2 separate regions of the Homo sapiens genome follow, and region 2 is linked to region 1. The links are contacts of gene promoters, found by promoter capture Hi-C in blood cells and fetal thymus (Javierre and others, 2016). All regions are on one chromosome and are shown on one strand. The core of a region is centred on a gene start or on the middle of the fragment in contact, and the rest is flanking DNA. Distances in the headings are between cores, read along the strand shown. Region 1 holds the start of CT75 (cancer/testis associated transcript 75). Region 2 has its middle 28 kb from the start of SGPP2.

The links. The method cuts DNA at HindIII sites, captures the fragments that hold promoters and counts their contacts. A CHiCAGO score of 5 or more calls a contact.
Region 2: a contact is called between a fragment that was not itself captured here and the fragment with the promoter of CT75 in region 1, in 1 of 17 cell types (M1 macrophages). The highest score is 5.1, in M1 macrophages.

The regions. Positions count from the first base shown.
Region 1 is chr2:222,315,819-222,321,778 of GRCh38, reverse strand. It overlaps CT75 (cancer/testis associated transcript 75), which reads right to left and starts at 3,308. Exons shown (of 4, transcript NR_136642.1): 1 at 2,409-3,308. It overlaps RNF228 (ring finger protein 228), which reads left to right and starts at 1,624. Exons shown (of 1, transcript NM_001395871.1): 1 at 1,624-5,960. The coding sequence starts at 1,714. The coding sequence ends at 2,751. RefSeq lists silencers at 1,444-1,753, 2,394-2,723 and enhancers at 3,194-3,243, 3,020-3,615. The HindIII fragment of the contact is 3,961 bases long and covers 1-3,552 here.
Region 2 is chr2:222,393,724-222,399,683 of GRCh38, reverse strand. No RefSeq gene overlaps it. Among named protein-coding and RNA genes, the nearest start is that of SGPP2, 28 kb to the left of the region's middle. RefSeq lists an enhancer at 5,335-5,932. The HindIII fragment of the contact is 5,004 bases long and covers 1-4,840 here.

The DNA.
Region 1 (5,960 bases), core at 2,059-4,558:
AAATTGAAAGAATGTTATTACCCCAAGTAATAATTACAAAATTAAAAACTAGGAAATGGAAAATAGTGGGTTTTAATGAGCTTCACTTAAAGCCCTTCAAACTGAAGACATCACATTCACTATTAGCATGGAGTAAAACATTTATTTTCAAATGTCATAGAAACAATATTTATAAGTCCTCTTCTCCACCTCTTGTGTGGTGATTTACTGATTTCTCTCTTTCTTTCCTTCTTTTTCTTCAGCTTGCTTCCCATCCAGTCATCCTTTTTCACAAACATTCCCTGGGGCATCTTGCTGTCTTCTGCAGAGAAACTGAAAAAAAAGTAGGAACATTCCCAGCTGTGGGAATCCAGAACATTCCAAAGTCATCTTTTCTTTTGTTGAGGGGGAAGGTGGGTTCCCTGCTCATAGGGTGAGGCCCAACCTGGAGAAATCGGGGGACAGACTTTCTGGTTAGGAGTATCTGAACACCACCCCTCAGTTGGTCCTCAAGCCCACCACTCCTGTCACCTACCCAGTGCTTCTTAAGCCTTATTTCTTGCTACCCGGTCCAGTTGATCTTCTGTTTTCATTAAATCAAGAGGACCTGTCCCATGTTACCCCTGGAGTTTCAGCTCTCTACATGTGTACGTTAAAAGTTTAAGTGGACGAAGCCAGTGAGGGAGCCCAGGAACTCGGTTTAAGCCGCACTTTGACAGTCTGTGAATCTGTTTGACAACTTTCTCCCCTCTCTGCCTCTGTGAACGCCTGTGCACCAACGAAATAGCCACCTAGATCCGCTGTGGTCAGCGTCAGGAAAACAGCAAGACCCAGCTATGAATCTGTTGTCTTCGTCCTCCTTTAAATCTCAGCAATATTTCAGAGAGAGAGAGAGGGAGAAAAAAAATACTGTTCAGCTCAAAAATTTCCTCTAAATGATACAAGGAAAACGCCGCCGTTCCGTTTGTACCCTAGATGTGGGCTGCAGGGCTGCCTGGGCTCTGCTAACAAAAGCACAAAGCGTGAATGGCCTGGTGATGGCTGTTTTTTCGCCCATGGACGGAGAGATGAGATCACGATTTTCACGAAGAGAAGAAACCGCCGCTGCCAGGCGGTTGAGGCTGCCGTTTCCCCTCCCCGCGCGGGTCCCGCATTACATCACTGGTGAGCTCTGGCTTGGGGGTGGGTGGGTGAAAACGAGGCTTCGCCAGGGACCCAGCCCCCGGGCGAGGAGGATAAACAGAAACACACTGGTGGGGAGGTCGTGTCGAGGAAGAGAAAGAAGGAAAACTCAGGAACCGGTTTCCTGCCACCACCCCGCGTAGGGGGCGGGGGACTGCTGGGGTAAAAGGCAACATCTTTATAAGCAGCCGCACCCCAAATCTCCTTCCCGAGCGCCTCCAGGCCGCCCTCAACTCCCAATTTCAAGTCCAACAAAAACCGATATCCTAAGCTGCTGGGAAAGCTGCGTTGAGAAGGCCGAGGGGGACTGCAGAGGAGCCCAGGGACGGGGAGGGACCGTGGTGCACGCGCCGGGGGCGGGGGACGGGGAGGCGGGAGGGGGAGGCGGTCGCTGCTGCGCCCCCGCCTGGCCCAGCCAGCGGTGCCTCCCCCGCCAGGCGACAGCAGTCAGAGGGGGGAGGCAGAAGCGCCTCCTCCCCGCCCGGAGCCCAGGCGGCGGTGCAGGGGGAGGAAGGCACCTCACCTTGCCCCCGATGAGGGGCGGATCATGCCATGGCAGCGCCGGCGAGCGACAGCGGCGGCAGCCAGCAGAGCCCAAGCAGCAGCCCCGGGAGCCGGGAGGGAGCTGGGGTCGCCGCGAAGGGAGCCCCGGACTGCGGAGACGCAGGAGCCCGGGACGCAGCGGAGACGGTCTCCGGCCTCCCTCCGCTTGAGGACTACGAGTGCAAAATCTGCTACAACTACTTCGACGCGGACCGGCGCGCGCCCAAGCTGCTGGCGTGCTTGCACACCTTCTGCCAGGAGTGCCTGAGCCAGCTGCAGCTCCGCGCCGCCGCCGCCGCCGCCGCTGCCGCCGCGCCTGAGCGCCCGCCGCGCCCGCCGCCCTGGCTCTGCCCGCCCGGCGCCATCGCGTGCCCGGTGTGCCGCCACCGCACGCCGCTGCCCGACAGCCGCGTGCACGGCCTGCCCAACAACACCAAGCTAGCCGAGGCCTTCCCGCTGGCTTTGCGCGCAGCGCACGACCCGCTGCCCCAGGACCGCCTCCCGCCGCTGCCCGCGCGCCTGCCCGCGCCCGCTGCTGCCCCGCCGCCCACCCCGGCCCCGCCACCGCCGCCCTCCCCCGCCCCACCGCAGCCGCCGCCGCCGCCGCCTGCCGAGGACGCGGCCCCCGGGCCTCGAGCCCGCCCCGGCCTGCGCGCCCCGGGCGCCTACGACAGCTGCCAGAACTGCAAGCGCGCGGCGCTCACCGCTGGCTGCGTGTGCGTGGTCTTCTCCTTCCTCTCCATGGTGGTGCTGCTCTTCACCGGCCTCATCTTCGTCAACCACTACGGCGGCGGGGGAACCCCCGGAGGCGGGGCGCCCCCTGGCGAGGCACCGGCCACCGGGTCGCCCTCGCCCTCGCCCGTGGGGCCCATCTGCCTGTCGGTGGCCAGCATCCTGGCACTCTTCTCGGTCGTTGTCACCTGGGTCATCTGCTGGCTCAAGTATCGGCCCGAGGGTGCGGCCGCGGGCTCGACGGGGGGCAGCGGCGGCGGCGGCGGCCCGAGGGCACGGGCTGCGGCGGGCGGCGCGCGGAGGAGCGACACATAGCCGGGCCACGCCGCGGAACCGGCGCCTGCACCTCCAGCCCCGCGTGGCGGGAGAAGAGGGGGCCTCTGGCTCGGTGCGCTCGAGCTTCTGCACCCTCTCCCTGCTGCCCCCGGGCTCTCCTGGACTCACACTCTCTCCCAACTCGGCCACTGAGGAGCCTCGGTTTTCTGTCCCTCGGGCTTCTGTCGCCCCTCGCCCTTCGCGCTGGGCCAGAGAGGGAAACTGAACAGGAAGGGATGTTGGTGGGGGGGGGGGGTCTCTTTTGCCTGGACTGTGCAAAATTGACCTCCGCGTTATGCACCACCCTCGTCCTCGTCAGAATGTGCGGCCATCCCTCCCTAGAGCACAAAGATCTGCAGAGACGAAGCAAGGGGAGGGGGAGCCCCACCGCCCCGCCTGAAAGCTGGTTTTCTGGCCGCCAGGACTTGAGAGTTTCTTTAAAGGTGCAGCTGCGCGCGTGCACACGTGCATCTGTGGCGGCTGTGAATGGACTTGAATTGCCCGGAGGAAGAATGAATGGGATGTAAACGTGAGAGGAAAAGGATTTCCTGCTTCCTAGCGGTCCTGGAAAGGGAGAGATCCTGAGCGCTGAGAGTGACGGACACTCCCCGCCGGCACAGCGCGGGCGTGCCCGGAGCTCAGGCAGCAGCTGGGCGCGATGGGGCAGGTGCACGGCGCGCGTGCGCGATCGGAGCCGACTCGGAGTGGCCGAGGCTGCGGCGCGCCCAGGGCGGTGGGCCCTGTTGCCCATGGCCGGGTGTTGTCTGGAGCAGAGCCTAGAAGTCTCATCTCCTGGAAGCTTGTGGTTGTTTTATTCACGGTGTTACTGCCAGGAAGTCTTCTGTAACTAGACTCAGGGAGCTTAAAGAGCCTGTTCTCCCTTCTCTCAAAAGTGGCTTACGGTTGCCCCCACCTGGAAGATATTGAAAGCTATTCACACAGAATATAAACTAGATTTTCTCCTTCCCCTCGCCTTTTTTTCTTAATTTCATTTAACATATAATTTATTTTTGAATATATAAATCTGGAAATTTTTGTGCATTAAGATTTCCAGAAAATTGTTTGATAAGCAGTGACATTATTCCCATACCTCGAGTCCAAATACATTTCGAAATTAGGAGCAGAAAATAAAAGCCTGTTGGTAATTGATTCAATATTTTATACTGTGAAATAACTAATGACTTTTAATTATCTGATAAAATATAAACTAGTGCCCAAACATGAAATCAACTAACTGAAGGTCTTTCTGCCTTTGGCTACAAAAGATATATATCGTATACACTTATTAGAAAGTATTATATGATTTTGAATTTAGCTGTTTGATATTGTTGGAATTACTGAAATGTTCACATACAGTCACATGAGATGAAAAAGAATATATATCTATCTGATTTTGTAACTACAAAGATGAATTGCCAGTATATGTTGCAAGTGGGTTAGATGCCTTTTTTTTTAAGAAGGAAAACTGTTCCAAATGTATTTTATATGAAAACATTCTTTATTCCATCTTTTGAAATTTGGAATAAGACAAAGTTTTCATGCTTAAAAATCACAGAATCTACTGAAGGTATGCTATTATTCCTCGAGTATTTATGCAAGCTGTCTGCATGATATCCTGACACTATTCTATTAATTGAACTTGAATCGAGCATTTGTATCTATCATAGGAGTGAAGTAATTTATTGGCCATTGATAAGTGGTTTGGCTGCAATGTAGAAACTACAGTATGAAGTGTTTTATGTCTGCATTGTCTTAATAATAAAAACAAGAGGTATTTATAGAAATATCTATTTTCATGACATTAATTTCATGGTAAAATTGCTCCATTATTTGTGTGGCACTTCTCTTCCTTAAATACATGTCCCCTTCTAAATCCAAATTTCACATTTTTAAATGGGGCTGAGAGAGAAATAACTCACACATGGAAATGTGCGTTGCTAAGATGGGCATTTAGTGGGATTATTTCTAGGAATAATGACCCTGGAAGGCCCAGTGAGATCTGTTGTATTCTGAAGAGAGAAGTAACTTACATATTTACTACCACAATGTCCACTAAAACTAAACTCTGTTGTCAGACTTTGTTCTTGCCTTCTATGAAATGTTTTTAGGTTTCTATTACTAAAAGTCACTTTTCAGAACTTAGTTTTAATTTATTTATACCCCCATGTCTTGTGTTTTACTTCTATATCCATTTTTACCTCTTATTCATTCTTTATTTACCTCCATTACTAAGATTCTGTTTGCACTAAAAACTGTTGAGTTGCACAAGTGCAGCTACACATGTATATATGTATGTATTAGGTTTATGTTTAAAGATATATTATGTATAAAATATATGCATACTGGTAACAACTTGGCTTTGTGGCTGTAACCATTGTACATGTGTACACACACATGAGTTTTTTATGTGTGCTAAACTGGCAACCTAGAAGTCTGTCTAAGGTTACTTTGGGCACCAGGTTTCTTTTTAGAGTTTATTTGTGCTCCAGAGAAGTATGCCAATAATGTAACCTAAAAGATTCCTCATAACTGAGAAATACATTCTTGAATCACCTCGATGGCAACAGAAGCCACATTTTGCTTCTATTATAGATTGCACGTGTAAATTTCATGTAATTGAAATTTGAGTTAGAATACTTTGAAGTCAAAGAGACACACTTAGCAGATCAGTATCTAAACATGGAGAGAGATTTTCTGTGGCTTACCATGCTTTATTGCTAATTTCTGATTTTGCCATCAGGAACTGAGTGGCAGGATGTGGTCATGGAAAATATCTGTCTGGTTTCTAGTGGTTATCTGGCATTCAGGTCTCTCTCCCCTCTCTCCATTCAGCAGATTGGGTTTAATCATTTATATTTACGTGGAAACACCTATACACCAGCACCTTAGACAAAGCAGGAGTTTAAGAAGTAATTGTTGAAATAGCAAGTAAGTTGTCTGGAGGATTCCTGGTGAAAGTGGTATTTTTTTTTCCCTTCCCATGGCAACTCTTCATCTTGGAAAAGCTTGATTCAATCCTGGACACCTCTACTACCAGTAGAGTCACTACAAAAAGCCAGGCCTGGTCTGGTCTCTGTACCTGCTTGGAAACTCCTGGTCCCCATGGGCCACATTCTGCCTAGGTTCTAGGGCTACAGGTTAGACTCATCATCATGCTTTCATAGGATCTACATTTCAGGTGAAAGAAACTCATGATGCAGGTGGCGAAT
Region 2 (5,960 bases), core at 1,089-3,588, 79 kb before region 1:
TGGCAGCTGGTCAACTAATGGATCCTGTAATTGGCAAAGAGATGGGCTTCTGCAGATAAAGGAAGCAGAGTAATCATGTTGCTAAAAATACACGAGTGTTTGGCTCTTCAGATAACAAATGGGCTGACACAGGACCATATGCATGAAGCTAAAAATACCTTGCAAAATAGCTGCAATGAGGTGCCCTGGGACACAGTTGTAATAATAAACGACTGTATACTGGCTGTCAGGCTCCTATTTGACAAAACTAAAATATCTTGTACTGCTTTTCTACTTACTGGGAACATTGGAAAAAAGAACACAAAATTGTCAATGTGGCAGTGAAAGAAAACGCTCATGGAAATGTGAGATCTGATAATCAGATAATGCAAATGATACTGTATACATAGCAACAATTTCTATCCTCAGAATAGCTCACGATAACAGGGACCATTTGTTTTAAGACAGTAAGATCCAATTCACCTGACTGTGCTCTGTGACTTAGGATCACTAGATGCTCAATTCTGAGTCACAATATCTTAGTAGCTGTATCACCTGGGGCAAGACTCCACATCATTATTCTGAGGCTTAGCTGTCTCATCTATAAAATGGGATTAATAAAACCATTGGATACTGTGGAAATAGAATAATATATCAAAACAGAATGTCTGGCAGAAACAACGCTTGTCTTTTTTGTCTTGAATGTAGATCGAGTTAAACATAAATAAGAATTCATCCAAATATTTGCTGAGTGGTGGAAACATTATATTTTCTTTATTCTGGAATGAAATGGTTAATTATTCAGGGATAAGAAAAATCTTTTTATAACCAATCACATGCCTGGACTTTGTAACCTTGGTGACATTCTAAAGTGCTGTTGAGATTGCTGCTGCTGCTGCTCTAATGAATCCAGTGTTTTGGTGGAACTGGGGCATCCAGGGTCCTACAGCAACAGAAGTGTTTTCCAGAGTAGTGGACATAATGGGCCCCTTCCTGAGCAACAAATCCTCCACTCATCTTTCCTAATCAGACCCTCAGTTTCCTAGCCATGCGATCCTGCTGTGGCTCCTGATTGGCCTCCAATAGTTGCATAATTCTACCTCTGTTGCCACAGAGATCAGTGCACTATGTAACCCAGGTCCAACCAATCAACATGCAGCATTTTCCCAGCTTCAGTCATTCATTTTGGAATGGGCATGTGATCCCAGTGATTCAATCAGAGCAAAGCTCAATCCTTTTGTTTGGTGGTCAGGGTATCAAAATAGCTTTCTGCCCTGTGTATGAATAAGAAAGTACATATCATCAATACACAAAAGCCAGTTACAGTTTCACAAACTTGCAACCTTCAGAAAACTTACTTTAAACATATATATGTGTGTGCATATATAAATGCAGTCAAAAATATTTTCTCCTAGCTACATAGGAGAAAATAATCTAACAAAATATGGGCAAGACCTTTAATAAGAAATGTGAAAACTTAATTGAAAGATACTAAAGAAGACATAAGTGAAGAAATATGTCATATGGATAAATATGAAAACTCAGTGTTAAAAAATGTCACTTCTAACTTGTTCTATACTATCAATTCATTTGCTATGAAAATTCTAATAAGTTTTTTCAAGGGACTTGATAGTTTGTGTACTCCAAAAGCAGATGTTGAGATGGAGTTTGGGGTGCTAGATGTTTACAAGTATATTAGTCAGTTCTCACATTGCTATAAAGAAATACCTGAGACTGGGTAATTTATAAAGAAAAGAGATTTAGTTGGCTGATGTTTCCACAGGCTGTACAGGAAGCCTGATGCTGGCATCTTCTTGGCTTCTGAGGAGGTGTCAGGAAACTTACCACAATCATAGCAGAAATGGGGGCAGGCACGTCTTACATGGCAGGAGTAGGAGAAAGAGAGAGTGAGGGAGGAGGTGCCACACACTTTTAACCAGCTCTCAAGAGAACTCACTCACTATCATGACACAGTACCAAGGGGAAAATCCACCCCTATGATCCAATCTCCTCCCACTAGGCCCCACCTACAACATTGGGGATTACAATTTGACATGAGATTTGAGCGGGGACACAGATCAAAACCATATCAACTAGGAAGGTGTGAAAGGAACAGGGAGGAAGCAGGATTGGACAGAGGAAGATGTTAAACTCTGATGCAGCCTTGACAAGTCTCAACCAACCCTGTGGTGAGCTCTGAGAAAAGTACTGCCCTTCAGAGCATCCTACTTCAGGCCAAAATATTCCTCATCCCACTTAATCACCAGATAAAGGCTGCCCTGGAAAGGCCAAGTCTCTGTGTAGGTGGTTCTCTGAAGCTGAGGCTAATCTTAAAGAAAGTGATATTTGGGGGCTGTCTGCTGACTGTACTCCTTTCAGCCTGCCAGCAAATTCTTCCTTGAAGGAGGCCTATGAAAGCAAATCTATGTCTATCACACAAGCTGATTCTAAAACTGATAGAAAAAAAAAGCCAAGAATAGCTAAGATATTACTCCTGAAGACAAAGGAGGAAGAGGTGAGAGAGGAAGAATGATGAGGAGGGGAAGGAATAAAGGGATTTGTCCTACCAGAAACAAAACTTATTTTTATTTACCTATATATTTATCATTTTCTGTGTTTTTCATTCCTTTGTGAAGATTCAACTTTCCTGCTGGTAGGATTTCCTTTAAGCCTGAAAAACTTACAATGTGGGCCTTTTGAGATAAATTTTCTCAGCTTTCATTTACATGAAAAGGTCTTTATTTTGCTTTTGTATTGCAATGTATTTTAGCTGGATATAGAATTCTGAGTGAGTTGATGCCAGGCGCGGTGGCTCACACCTGTAATCCCAGCACTTTGGGAGGCCAAGGCGGAAGGATCACAAGGTCAGGAGATCAAGACCATTCTGGCCAATGTGGTGAAACCCCATCTCTGCTAAAAATACGAAAATTAGCTGGGCGTTGTGGCGTGTGCCTATGGTCCTAGCTACTCAGGAGGCTGAGGTAGGAGAATCACTTGAACCCAGGAAGCAGAGTTGCAGTGAGCCGAGATCATGCCACTTCACTCCAGCCTGGGTGACAGAACTAGACTCTGTCAAAAAAAAAATTCTGAGTTGACAGGGATTTTTCCTTTTAATACTTTTCAGATGTCATCTTCTTATGCTTAGGTCTCCATTTTTTCTGATGAGAAGACTGTGGTCATTCTTATGTTTACTTCCCTGATTGTAAAACCTTTTTGCTTTGGCTACTTCTAAGACTCAGGAATTGGACTAATATATATCTAGGTGTGGTTTTCTTTGGAACTTGCCTGCTTGGGTTTTGCTGAGCTTTCAGATATCTTTCATCAAATTGGGAAAAGTTCTGGTCATTACTTCTCCAAATATTTTCTGTTCTAATATTTGAATCCTCTCATTCTGGGACTATACTTCCACATGTTTTGGAATGCTTAATATTTGCCATAAGTTACTAAGATGCTTTTCTTTTTCTTTTTTTCCAGCTTTTCCCCCTATCTTTTTTCTTCAGCTTCTTAGATAGTATTATGGGCTAAATTGTGCCCCTACCTCAAATTCATATTTTGAATTCCCAACCCTTAGTACCTCAGTGTGTAATCAAGTTTTGAGATAAGGTCTTAAAGAGGGGACTGAGTTAAAATGAAAATATGACAGCTGAGAAGCCTATAATTAAAATAAAATAAAATAAATAAAATAATAAAATAAAATGAGAATATCAGAGTTATCCAATCTGCCTGATGTCCTATAAGAAGAGAAAGGACACCAAGGGTATATGTGCACAGCAGACACCCATATGAAGAGGTAGCAAGAGGGTGGTCATCTAAAGTTAGAGGCCTTAGAGAAAACTAACCCTGCTGACACCTTGATCTTGGACTTCCAGCTTCAGAACTGTCAAAATAAATTTGTCTCGTTTAAACCACCCAGTCTGTGGTATTTTGCTATGTATTACTAGCAGACTAATCCAGATAGGTTCTATTGTTTCTTATTCAAGTGCATGGATCTTTTTCTCTGCAATTTTCAATCTGCTATTAATTCCATCTATTATTTCCTGAAAATATAACTTTTTTGTTTCAAATGTGGTATTACTAATTTTTAGAATTCCCATTACTACATTAATATTCCCCATTTTTATGTCTCATTATATGCATATTTTCTTTTACATCCATGGATATATTTATAATAGCTATTTTTAAGTGCTTGTCTGTTAAATTCAACATCTGGTCATTGCCATTGAGGATGCAAAGATGGGAGAACTTTGCTAAATTTTTCTTTCCTGGTTATGGCACATTTTCCTGCTTCTTTGCATATCAAGTATTTTTTTCATTGTATTCTGCCATTTTTTTCTTTAGAGATGAAGTCTCACTCCCAGGCTGGAGTGCAGTGGCACAATCATAGCTCACTGCAGCCTTGAACTTTCAGGTTCAAGTGATCCTCCCGCCTCAGCCTCCTGAGTAGCTGGGACTACAGTGTGAGCCACCATGCCTAGCTTGTATGCTGGTCATTGTTAATACACGTTGAATATCCCTTATCCAAAATGCTTAGGACCAGAAGTATTTTGGATTTGGAATTTTTTTTTTTTTACAGATTTTGGAATATTTGCATATATATAATCAGATATCTTGGGGATGGGACCCAAGTCTAAACACAAAATTTATTTATATTTCCTATACACCTTATATACGTAGACTGAAGGCAGTTTCACAATATTTTAAACAATTTTGTGCATGAAACAAAGTTTTTGTGCATTGAGCCACCAGGAAGCAAAGCTGTCACAATCTTAGCCACCCATGTGAACAATCTGATTGTTTGGCATCACGATCATCCCTGGCTCTAAACTGATATGCTACTCATAAGCAATAATTTTCTTAAGCTTATTCACACATAAATACTTAACATTAAAACATATGATATGCCATTAATACAATGAAGAAATATTGTGTGCAGAATAACTAAGTAGCACAGTAGCATCACCAGAATACCTGTCTCAGCTGTTAGACAACGGCAACAACAAACAGTGATAGGTTGCAACCTCCACCTGATGCTTTTCTTTGACTAAAAGGTTACTAGACAGTGTGTTTCTTTTTCTTTTTTTTTGTTTGGTAAGAAGAAACATCAAAAGTAATTGAGGGACCAGGAAATAGGTCCTCTAGGAATGAAGAGGCATTCTGCAGGATGGCTTTTAAAAATGTTTTCTCCAGAATAATCTGCCTCATTAACAATGAGTTTTTGCTTAGATGTCTTTTCTTGATTTTATAAACTGAGAAGGTTTCTTGTCTTGTTATAAATATACACTGCTGTAGTCCTTCAAAAAGCCCACCACACATTTTCACCATGTTGTCAATAGATACTTTTCCTGTAGTGTTGACATCATCTTCATCATCACTATTATCATCATCTTGATTGGGAACTGTTTTGTCATATTTCACCATTGATCATTGAATAAACAACTGGAGCCTTGTTATTGATGTTAAAAACTTTTTCAATTATCACCTTCTTCCAGCTTATTGATGGATTTTAAGGATACATTTCTTGAATATGTAAGAAGGTCAGATGTCCCTGGCGATCCATGCCTTTTGTTAGCATAATAAAGGACTGCTAAGAAATTCACTCCTTGAGGACAGCAAAGCTTTTGCCTATCACAGCAAGTTTACACTCATGCATACCTGCTGTGTTACCACATCCCAGCACAGTTATTCTGTCTTTGCATCCTTAATTCCTGTAGGGGCTTTCTCATCAGATGTAGTCGGTGTCTTTCTGGAGCAATAAGGCCAAAAGTGTTGATTCATCAGTATTATAGATGTGTTCTGGCATCAGATTTTCATCAGCGATGACCTTGACGAACTCATCAGTGAATTCCTCTGCTGCTTTGTGATCAGCAGATGCTTAATCACCAGCAGTCTTTACAAATTTAAAGCAGTGGTTCAAATTTTTACAGGTTCTGTTCATTGTTAACCCCAAAGGATATATCTACCTCTCTTTTGGGTATCATTCT